4 separate regions of the Homo sapiens genome follow, and all the other regions are linked to region 4. Evidence: promoter capture Hi-C in 16 types of primary human blood cells and fetal thymus (Javierre and others, 2016). All regions are on one chromosome and are shown on one strand. Each heading gives the region's core, a stretch centred on a gene start or on the middle of the fragment in contact. The rest is flanking DNA. Distances are from core to core; before and after follow the strand shown. Region 1 overlaps PLD1 (phospholipase D1). Region 2 overlaps PLD1 (phospholipase D1). Region 3 overlaps FNDC3B (fibronectin type III domain containing 3B). Region 4 holds the start of FNDC3B (fibronectin type III domain containing 3B).

Region 1 (2,723 bases), core at 187-2,686, 300 kb after region 4:
GTTGCTTATTTTTCATGATATTCTTTCTTCAGCTGTATTTATTACAGCAAATAATCTATTTCTTTCTCTGAATAAGCTTTCCCAAACCAATCTCCCTTGAATTACTTATCCAAGTTAATAAAGTTGGATGAGAGAAATGTTGGCATTCAATGTGGTGTTGCTTTTTTTTTTCTTTTTTTTTTCTCTTGTTTTCAATTAAGCACTCTGTTTTAATTTACAAGTTAGGAATCCTTTAAATGTTAAACAGGAACGTAAACTAAAAGGTTGTTTTGGATAACTGAGGCTCACACAGAGCAGGCTGAATTGTTTCCATATGCTGTATCTAAGTCTGGATTCAAATTGTGGAATAGCATTTTATGTTATCAAAATGCTAAGTCTTTGTAACCGTTTTCTTCTTTCCTAGCCCCTTTGCTTTTACTCTGTCCAAAGTTAACATGTCACTGAAAAACGAGCCACGGGTAAATACCTCTGCACTGCAGAAAATTGCTGCTGACATGAGTAATATCATAGAAAATCTGGACACGCGGGAACTCCACTTTGAGGGAGAGGAGGTAGACTACGACGTGTCTCCCAGCGATCCCAAGATACAAGAAGGTAAAGACGGATGATCTGAGCGGGGAAGAAAAGAGTTTATCTCGGTTGGTCGGAAGACCACAAATTTGAAGTAACCAGCAAATGATTGATTTTCCTTGCAGATGTAACACCGGGCTCAGATCATTTTATAAGAGGCTTACTTGTTTTAACACGTGATTCTTAAAAGAATGCCTGTAAAAGACAAGTTATGCTAATCATATATTGCATTAACTTTATTTACTTTTTTTTTTAGTGTATATCCCTTTCTCTGCTATTTATAACACTCAAGGATTTAAGGAGCCTAATATACAGACGTATCTCTCCGGCTGTCCAATAAAAGCACAAGTTCTGGAAGTGGAACGCTTCACATCTACAACAAGGGTCAGAGCGTTTATGGACTCACCCTTTTTTCTTTTGTCAATATATGTGAATTAGTACATAGCCTTTCATTTTCCTCCCTCTTAGCTATGATCATGTTTGTAGGTTTTTGTTTGTTTGTTTTTATGTATCTATCATTTCCAAGTCATTTTCACCTGTCAAGTTTTTGCCTCCTTCCCATTTAATCTTCATTCTTATATTCCTCTTTCTTCATTTGAGCCAAAGCTCTTTCTTTTAAAAAGGCATGTAAGGCAAATTAACAGTTTAATAAATTGCAAAGTGCCTCTCTTAATCTTCTTCTCTCCCCAGTTTTCTGTTTCATTTGGACTCTTGATGCATATTTATTCCACCTTGCATGGCAGGTATAAGTCAACAAGAATTTTAGCTTTCCTAATGTTTATTTAGCATGAAAATGTTGGTGCTACCTGGCTCTTAAGAAAAAAAGCCGGGATACTGGATCGGCCAGTGCCATTACCTCAAAATACTGTTGAGAGAATTCTGCAGCCATACTCTGCCTCTCTGATTGGTTCCTAGAAAACCATCCTTTAGTCCTCATTCACGTGATATTTCACTGAACGCTGAAAAGGCTTTGGAGTAAAATGTCTTCAACAATCAAAGTTATGCCCTTTGAAATGGATTGGACTAGAAGAAGCTGTTAGGGTAGCTACTTTTCTCTGTTCCTGGCTGGATTTTGCAGTTGTTAAGTCTCCGGGGGAGGACAATTGCTGCAGGGTGGTGACCTTTGTCCCTTCAGGCTAAGATCTAGCCATGGCAGAGTAAGGCCACCACTGCCTCCTGCCTCAGGGGAAGCACAGATTAATAACCAGCTGTCAGGGCATGCTTTGCCTTCCCTTCCTCCTTGTCTTTTGGAGGTGGCATGCGCTGCATTGCTTTCTGGGTGGTTTTGCCTGGTGCTGTGTCCCAGCCTACCTGCACATGTACTGACTCCCAGCTTACACTCATTTTGGTGTCAGCCTCTGGTTTAGGCTTTCCCTGTGACTCGGGTCCATGTCTCCCTGATACACCACTGAGCACAACTCCCTCAGAAATGTCTCTAAGATGAGCTTTGTTTTCTTATTTCACCTGCCAGCATTTAGATTGAAAGATAATAACATGTGGGGGTAAATGACAGACTCTAGAGGCAGACTGCATGGTTTAATTCATCTTTGCCTTGTGATCTTGAATGAGTGACTTAACCTCTCTGTTCCTGTTTCCTCTTCTGAATAAAGGGTATAACAGTGCTTACATTATAGGTTTATTACAAAGATTTAGTAATAATAATACATATGTATTATATTATACAAGTATACACTGTATACTCATTACTGCAGTCACTTTTTCCACCCACCCCTCCTTAACACTGGTGGTTCCTTAGGGTGGGTGGGTGGTATAGACAAGGCTGGACCTTGGAATGTGTTTCACAAGAGAAGGAGAGAAGGCATGTCGTGCCATTTCTGAAGAACAAAAACAGCCAAGATGGTGCTGTTAGTATACAATACGTCTCACCCCTGCCAATTGCCTGGTGCACGGCTTATATTTGTGGACTGGACCCCTGAAGGCTAATTAGGGCCTTTCTCATTGTCTCCTCCACCTAGTTCTTCATTTCAGGTGTGTGTGTGCGTGGATGCATACACGCACATATGTTGGAGGAACAGCGTTTGTAGGAATCGTCTCGTGTGATTGAAAGTTTGTCTTATGTAATTCATCAAGTGAACATTTAGAGAATATTATTTCTGCAATTGGCTGCTTTTGAAACAAATTTACTTAAGTAC
Region 2 (2,981 bases), core at 438-2,937, 270 kb after region 4:
TGGTTCTTGCCCCCCTCAAGAACCAGGTGCTTGTGTGCACATAGGTCTTATGGTTACGTACCAGAAAATGTGGGAGATTGTGATGCCATCCACCCTGGAAATTCACTATTTTAGTAATGTCAGTAAATACTTAACTTCCCAGAGGGATTGCAAAAGTTGAGGATAGAGTATACTCCTGGAGCTGATCTGACCACAGAGCTCCCCAGTTGCCTGTTTCATTCTGAAGAACCCAATTTAAGTTTGACCCAGCATTTCTGGGGTAGTAGTACTACCCCAGTTAGTAGTAATAGTCATAGCAGAAGTGGTAGAATAGTGGTAATAATAATAATAATAATAATAATAATGAACACATAAAAGTCATTTCCTAAGTGCAGTCACTGTTCTAAGCCCCAGCCCCCCTCTCTTTTTTTTTGAGGCAGAGTCTCACTCTGTTGCCCAGGCTGGAGTGCAGTGGCACGATCACTGCTCACTGCAACCTCAAACTCTTGGTCTTAAGTCAGCCTCCCACCTTGGCTTCCCAAAATGCTGGGATTACAGGCATGAGCCATGTAAACAAAATGCTGGGATTATAGGCATGAGCCTTGTAAACATGCCCGGCCTGTTCTAAGCCTTTTCCTTAATCCTCACAACAACCTTAAGTTGTTGATTTTCTTTATTATCTCCATTTTACAGTTGAGGAAACTATTCAAGAAAGTTAGATTGACCTAAGTCAGAGCAACTAGTAGGCAGCTATGACAGTGTTGTGCATCAGAAGGTGCTGTGGAGGGGGAAGAACTGAAAATAGAATCCAATATTAGAAAAATATAAGAAAAAAATACAACCTAATACATTTTGGATTGTATTATGTCCAATATAACCCAGTACTTATTATTGAGAAACAACCATGTAGATACTGACATCTGTGCTGCTCTTCATTTAGAAGATGCTCTGTTGACTTACTGTCAACCAGCAAGGCAAGCCATTGGTGTCCTTTCTCTACTTGGGTTGGTAAGCTTGTGCTCCACTTTCTCACCTACTCTGCTCGTGACCAGTGGCAAGAACCTGGTGACCAATGGCAGGATATAGAGGTTGCCCATGGCCCGTAAATGAGACCAGTAGTGGCCAGGCCGTATGGAGAATAGCCCACTGCATTGAATACTGTCTTTTAAACACTTAAGCTACTTTTGGGATTTTAGAGACTTTTTAAGGCTAAAATAATAAAGCCACTAAAGCTAGGAACTTGGACTTTTCTGATTGTTTAGTTTTAATTTGGCCAGTAGGAGTGTCCTCTTTATTTCTGCCCAGTATGACTTCCTGCTAGTAATCAAAGCTCTGGTTATTTGGCAGTCTTGAAGGTTTCCTTAAGTTTAGTGGATAACCAAGATTATGAGACATATATTTTTTTAAAAGACATAAATGTGCATTTGAAAAATATTGGGCAAATAACTTCTACCCAATTTGGCTAAAATTTAAACGTGTTACAAATAAGTTTAGAACCTTTAACAATATAGAACAAGATAACCCAGACAGATTAAGGAGCTAACTTAAAAGAAAGAAAAGAAACGAAAAAATAAAAATTCTGATCTTTGAATGGGTAAGCACTTTCTCTTCCCAAAATCAATAGAGGAAATCACAAAAGGAAAAAGTCAATAGATTTAAATTTTCTAGGTAGGAGTGTAGACGCTTTAAGTATAAAAATGTTAATTGAAGCATTATTTATTACCATGAAAAGTTGCAAATAATAAAAACATAAAGTAGCAGAAGAAAATTGCATGACGGACCATCACAATTTTATTTATGGAAAATTGTAATAGGAGGAAATGGTGATGATAGATATTTAAGTAAAAATAATGGATATTAAACTATCTCTCCATCACACATCTGAATGTGTTTAAAATATACCTCTCTATGTGTGTGTTATGCTTACAGAGACAATAGAACGGATGATCACCTTAAGTTAATAGGGATTTAGGGGTTATTTTGAAGGTGGGATTTCTGATGATTTATATTTTCTTCTTATACTTTTCTACATATTGGTATTTTAAACATGATTACTTTATATTCATTTTAAAAAAGGGAAAAACTATTCATGGAGAAAAAAGTGAGACTATACCAACATATAATAGTAGAAATAGTAGACTAACATTACTCTTAATCTATTTAAGGTATTGGCTCTAAAACTGATTTTAATTTCCTCAAATTTGTATATATTTAAGGTTTTCTTAGATGAGAATTTATCATTTTTATAATAAAAATTAAAATTGATTAGAAGTGACAGGTTAGAGTTGAGGTAAAATGAATTTTTATAAAGGACAGAATCATTTTACTTTGGAGAACAATTATATTGCTGCCCTTATACATCATGTTAGGAAACACCTTTTTGACTTTTCTGTGTCAAGCTTAAAATTTCAGTTAGGTTTTTATAGCTAATTAAACTATAAGGTAGATAGTGTATTTAATAAAGGATACGGAGGAAGTTCATGTAAATACCTGAAACATCAGTCCAGGAAAGATTCTTTGAGAGATTTTCAATATGTCCAGATGTCTGGATAACAATTCTTTGGTCTAAACGCAGTTGATGATGTGATGAAAGGGACAAGTCAGCATACCAAGACAATCCTTAGAAGGGACGATTTGACTGGAATGCTGAAGACAGAAGAAAACCTTAGAGTAGCTGACTTCATACTTCCCCTTCCTCATTTTACAGATCAAGTCACTGAAGCCCAAAATGATTGAGTCCTCAAGTCTACAAGGTCGTAGTAGATTCGAATGGAAGCTTTTGGGGTCCTTTGATTCCCCCTCTGCTGCTCTTTATAATATTCTGCTCGTTTTCACACACTTTAGTAATGATGAATGAAATTTTATTTCCATTTCTCCTAGGTTGGTAAAAACTCAAAGCTAACACCATTCAGAACTTACCTAATGATGTTTGAAAAAGAGGCGGTAGGCTGATAACTGCTTCCTAGGAAGACCTACCAACTTCACCAGCATGCTCATTACTC
Region 3 (2,758 bases), core at 188-2,687, 260 kb before region 4:
TAACATTTAAGTTTCTTAAAAAGGATATTGTAAGCTCATGAATGAGCAGGAAATTAATAAAGTAAACCTTTACTAACCACAGGAACAATAAACTGTTAAAGCACGGAGCAGAAAGAAACATATGTTAACAATGAATAATAGATAACATTTACATGACTTTTACATTTTCTGGTTTTACATTTTCTGGTTTGTTGTTAAATTGACCATTTTGAATAATGGTTAAACCATTTCTATTATCATCTTAGCTTCACAAATTACACAGATCTTCTTGTACAGAGTGTGTGAAAAGCTCAATACGTTTGGGCGGAAGCTAATTGACTCAAAATCCAAAGTTTTGATTTAAACAGGAGGAGATGGTTGCAAGAGAGCTCATCTAAACAATATGATAGCTGAGCAGATGTGCACTTTATGCCTTAAAACAAAACAACTTACTCTGATATACATTACTTTAAACTTATTTTTAAGAACTTATGCAGCTAATAAGATATTACATCCTCAACGCACATCCTTGCTTTACTACCTTTTTTTTAACTGAGAAAATCATGGCAGAGCGTTCTATGTGAATTGACCAAAGTTAAAACAGCCCGTTCAGGGCAGAACCAGACTCACACTCAAGCCTCCTGGTAATTCATATACGCTCTTCCTACTAGGCTACCTTGCCTCCAACCTCATCCCGAAATCACAAAGAAACTCATGATGTAAATTAACCTTTGGAAAGTATAGTAATAGATGTATATTTCATGCTTACAATTTTATTCTGCAATCTTTATGTATGCATATATAATTGAAAAAAAAAAGGGAAACAATGTGTTGTTGTACATCCAGTTAAATAAAACTATATTTTCTGGGGAACTTAAATATTAGATAAAATAAAGATTAAAAAAAAGTTTTTTTAGTGTTATGGGTCATATTCAGACCTTCTTATTGGCAAATAAATAGATGGATGTATCTTTAAATAATCAGATGGTCTCTCTAAAAAATTCAGATAACACTTTCCTCCTTACAGATCTGTGGTTGGCTGGGTTTCTTCCTAAAATAAGCTAGCCCTACCTTCCAGAGTAGTCACAGTAGAGATTCCAGAAAATCACAGGAGAGATTTCAGGCTACATACTATGCCACATGGGTTAACTGTTTAGCCAAATTGAGTTAATTCTCATCAGAGATAATTTGATGCTTGTATTACTTGTCTTTTTCAAAATCTACCAGCTTTTAAGGTCTAACGGTGTGCTTGCAACATGGAAAGGGCTTCTTCAGTCATTTGGTCTGAATAAACAGTTTATATGATGGTCTATAAGAAACAATGATATGCCCATGGTGACAAAAGTTTCATTTGTTTTACAGAAAGAAACTGTTAAACCATAGTCCAATAGATCTTAGAAGACCATGTAAAATTACTTTTAAAATGTTTAAAATGATTTTCAGTGTTTAACACCTACTTTTCTGTTCACAGAAGCGCTTCTGTGTCTTCCCAGTTACGATGCTCTTGAGAGTCAATGAATGGCCCATAAGCCATGGTTCTACAACTTTCAGCAAGGTAAGCAACATTCACCAAAAACTTAAAAGGGAGTACATGTTTTTGCTTTAGCCACCTGGATTCTCCAATACAGTTTGGCTCTTATATCCTAACTCACCTCACATGATAATCTGTTGCTGGTCTAAGATCTTTCAGGTTACATTCTAATTCTTCTCCACTGTAAAGAAAAAGCATTCATTAGTTGCTAATTCCAGTTTCAAAAGCAAACGAGATTTGGAATTTGGGTGTCCAGTAATGTACTGACAATAATTCATGAACTATTATGTCAGATTCCACCATAAACCAGAAATAAACTTTCTTATTTGATATTATTATTTGTTTGGGACTAGAAAATCAGGTTCTTTTTAATGATGCCATCTTAGATCTCGAAAATGGCATGGTTAACTTACTAATAAAATTCTAAAAGATCTTATCACTTCTTACGAGTAAATACATATAAGTAACTAAGTAAGCAAATGAATGAATGAACAAACAAATGAATAAAAATGATCATACCAGCTGTTAACAGAAGGCACTTTCCACACTTACCTTGGCAGGAACCTCAATTATCTCAACTCTGGACTGTCTTAAGAAAAATCACAATCTCACTTCCTCACTTACCAATGCACCGAACAAATAGCTCTCTTCAATAAAATAAAACCATTTATGTCCTCAAAAGTTGCAACTGAACCTCACCTTAAATCATGAGGAAGTAACCAACCAAAATAAGGAATGTTCTATTGAAAATTTTTAAAAAGGTTAAAGGTGTGTGTGCATGTGACTTACTTTGTGTTCTTCAAAAATATCAGTGTCATAAAAGTATAAGAAATATTGTGGAATTGTTCCAAATTAAAGAAGGCTAAAGAGACATGACAACTAAAGGTACTGTATGACCCTAGACTAGCTCCTGCGCGGGAAGGGGTGAAAACTGCCCAATTTTTCAAAATATAACAGGCATTATTTATAGACCAAGCGACAAAAGCTGGAATATAGACAACAGATAAAAGTATCATATCAATGTAAGTTTATGAAGTTATAATTACACTGTGGTTCTTTAAAAAAATTCTTATAGGAAATATCCTGAAGTATTTTGTAGTAAGGGACCATTACATATAAAACTTATGAAAAAAAAGGCCGGGCGCGGTGGCTCACGCCTGTTATCCGAGCACTTTGGGAGGCCAAGGAGGGCGGATCACGAGGTCAGGAGATCGAGACCATCCTGGCTAACACGGTGAAACCCCGTCT
Region 4 (2,700 bases), core at 156-2,655:
TCGTCTGGGATGGCAGGGTGGGAGCTGAGATTCCAAAAGCTCCAACTCCGACCGCGCACTCCTGGAAGCCTCCCCGCCAAAGGCGCCGCCGGGCGGCGCAGCCCAGTCTCCCGAGACGGCGGGCCCGGGTCCTCCGGTTCCCACGGGACGCCGGGACCCGGACCTCTGGGAAAGTTCGCGGGCACAGCCCGAGGCCCCACTTTCTGCCGAGAGTGACAGGCCCTTCCCACGCCTGCCGGCCCCAGCCCAGCCGCGGGCACCAGACGGTCCGCGCGGCCCCTCCTGGCCGCCTCGGGGCGCAGATTCCGCCCGCCCGCCCTATCCCCGGCCGAGGCGCCCCTCGGGGTGACCGACTGACCGGAGCTCCGCTGGCCCACACACCGGGTCGCCCGCTCCTTCCCGCCGCGCCCCGCTCCCCCGCCCGAGCTTCCAGCCGCCGGCTCGCCAAGTCCGGCCGCGGCCGCCGGTTACCGCCCCCAGCCCGGGGGGAGCCCGGGGGGCAGGACGGGGAGGAGGACGTGGCGTGCTCGGAGGTGGCCAGCAGCGGGGCGGGGAGTGTCCCGGAGAGGCCCAGCCGGGGACGGGGGGGCCAGGCCGGCGCGGGCTCGGGACCCTCCCCGCGAGCATCCCCGGGTTCGAGGCCCCCGACCGCCCCCGCCGGCGCGGAGAGGCGGCCCCAACTTCCAGCCCCACTTCGCACTCCCGCCCTCTTCCCTCCACCATATGGAAATCTACAGCCTCAGAAAGTGACACGTCGAAGATTCCTCGGCCTCGCCGCCCGCCCTCCCCCTCCTGGGCAGCGTTCCTGCCGCGGAGATTCCGGGAGGGGGAGCGGATTCCTCGGACAAAATCTGCTGGGAAGGCTGGGGGTGGGGGGAGGCCGCGAGCCACTGCCCAATTTTTTTTAAGAGGAATCTACCCGTTTCTTTCACTCCTCCAAACCCTGAGGCAGGGGGCACAGGCGGGGGACCCCAGCCCAGCAAGGCGGGGGCCGCCCCCTCCCGGGTCCCGTGTTCCCGGGGTGCCCAGGCGAGCACGGGGCGCCCCAGCACTCCGGCGCCAAGTTTTTGCCGGGAAGCCCAGGGCGCTCCCGGGACAGGGACGCACTTTGGCGGACTCGGCGTCAGGCCGGGGCTTTCCAGTGCACCGGGACCCGGCGATCGCGCTCGGGGTCCCGGTCTCCTCTAGTCCCCGGCTCTTGCACGCCTTACCTTCCCTAGGGCTGAAACGCGGGGCTCTGGGCGCGCCACACACCGGGTCGCCCACGCCTTCCCAGCCGGCAGCCTGGAGGATCCCTGCCGCCCCCTTCGCTGCTCCCGCCGCCGCCGCTCTCCTCCTCCAGCCGCCGCCGCCGCCGCTCAAATAACTACCAGGAGGGTTTGATGGGGGATTCCGCCATGTCAATGATGTCGGGACCACATGGGGATTTGGGGCCCGCCCATTACCGTAAACCGCCGAATATACCGGCCGCCACAATCGCAGACTCGCAGAAGCTGTTGTCCCCCGGCCCTGCCTAGCTAAGCAGAAACTCCTTTTGGTTCAGCCAGACTAAAGAAACCTGAGGCTTAGGGAACTAACAACTCCTGAATGGCGAGGGCTGCGCGTTCTGCAGATCGCCAAAGTAATATAAAGGCAATGTTTACTCAGTGATAATTAAGCCTAAAACTGACTTTTTTTCATTTACACATATATTTCGCTTTTTGTTGTTGTTAACCCCCACAGCAACCTTGTGAGCTATATTACTCCCACATTTCCCACAGCATTTTATTCATACAACTAACATAGTATGAGCAATTTTTATTATACTTAAGTTAAAATCTCTCTTTCCTCTTTCTTTTTGTTTTTTGTTTTTTGTTGTTGTTGTTGTTTGTTTTGGGGACTGCAGGCACGGGGCAGGCATGAGCCACCGCACCCTTTTTTTTTTTTTTTTTTTTTCCTTTTTTGGAAGAGAGGGGGTCTCAATAGGTTGCCCAGGCTGGTCTGGAACTCTGTCGCTCAAGTGATTCTCCCGCCTTGGCCTCCCAAAGTGTTGAGATTACAGGCGTGAGCCAACTCACCCAGCCTTATTTCACAATGCGTTTCTCAGGGACAAAGACTGTTTCTTACTTTTATCTTTATATCCGTAAAATATAGCACAGTGCAAGGACCACAATAGGACTCATTAAATAACTGTTGAGTTCATATTAAGTCAAATGTAATGTATTTCTGTTGTACAGGCTCTAAGAGGTTAACAGACTGCATCCCATGCCACCCCTCAGATTATTCAGGAGACAAGAGAGCAAAAGTTAGCCTAGAGAAGCCCCTTCCATCCATAGCTGTCCAGGTATTCTGAATAGCTACATTCAGCCTCAACTATTAAGCTACAAAGGAGCATTCAGGGAGTCACTAGAGACAATGTATTACTTTTGTTAACCTAAAAAATAATAATAGCAGTACATAATACTCTGTTAAAGTCTAAAGAACACTAAGAAATAGCTCCTTCCTTCCCTTGTTCATTTGCCATTCTTTTGGGGAGATTTTAGCCTTTTTTTTTTTTTTTTGGAGGCAATGGTGAGTCCAGAGAAATGGGGACCTCTCTCCTAAATGGCTTATTTACTGTGGAGCTCCTCAAAGGGGAACTTGAAGCCATCTTTCTATAACATAACTCCAATTCTAGGTCATAGTCCTGCATGAGAAGCCGGGGCGGGGGGTAGGCAGTAG

The links. The method cuts DNA at HindIII sites, captures the fragments that hold promoters and counts their contacts. A CHiCAGO score of 5 or more calls a contact.
Region 1: a contact is called between a fragment that was not itself captured here and the fragment with the promoter of FNDC3B in region 4, in 1 of 17 cell types (neutrophils). The highest score is 5.3, in neutrophils.
Region 2: a fragment that was not itself captured here is called in contact with the fragment with the promoter of FNDC3B in region 4 in 1 of 17 cell types (neutrophils); the score reaches 8.8 in neutrophils.
Region 3: a contact is called between a fragment that was not itself captured here and the fragment with the promoter of FNDC3B in region 4, in 14 of 17 cell types (neutrophils, M2 macrophages, M1 macrophages and 11 more). The highest score is 18.1, in neutrophils.

The regions. Positions count from the first base shown.
Region 1 is chr3:171,735,763-171,738,485 of GRCh38, reverse strand. It overlaps PLD1 (phospholipase D1), which reads left to right. Exons shown (of 27, transcript NM_002662.5): 2 at 404-594; 3 at 827-954. The coding sequence starts at 435. Among named protein-coding and RNA genes, the nearest start is that of PLD1, 73 kb to the left of the region's middle. The HindIII fragment of the contact is 2,716 bases long and covers 79-2,723 here.
Region 2 is chr3:171,765,374-171,768,354 of GRCh38, reverse strand. All of the region lies in intron 1 of PLD1 (phospholipase D1), which reads left to right. Among named protein-coding and RNA genes, the nearest start is that of PLD1, 44 kb to the left of the region's middle. The HindIII fragment of the contact is 1,386 bases long and covers 995-2,380 here.
Region 3 is chr3:172,297,661-172,300,418 of GRCh38, reverse strand. FNDC3B (fibronectin type III domain containing 3B) reads right to left here. Exons shown (of 26, transcript NM_022763.4): 9 at 1,632-1,691. Among named protein-coding and RNA genes, the nearest start is that of GHSR, 150 kb to the left of the region's middle. The HindIII fragment of the contact is 4,891 bases long and covers 1-2,758 here.
Region 4 is chr3:172,038,283-172,040,982 of GRCh38, reverse strand. It overlaps FNDC3B (fibronectin type III domain containing 3B), which reads right to left and starts at 1,405. Exons shown (of 26, transcript NM_022763.4): 1 at 1,212-1,405. RefSeq lists silencers at 53-422, 483-732, 913-1,012, 1,153-1,332 and enhancers at 251-917, 918-1,585. The HindIII fragment of the contact is 7,479 bases long and covers 1-2,700 here.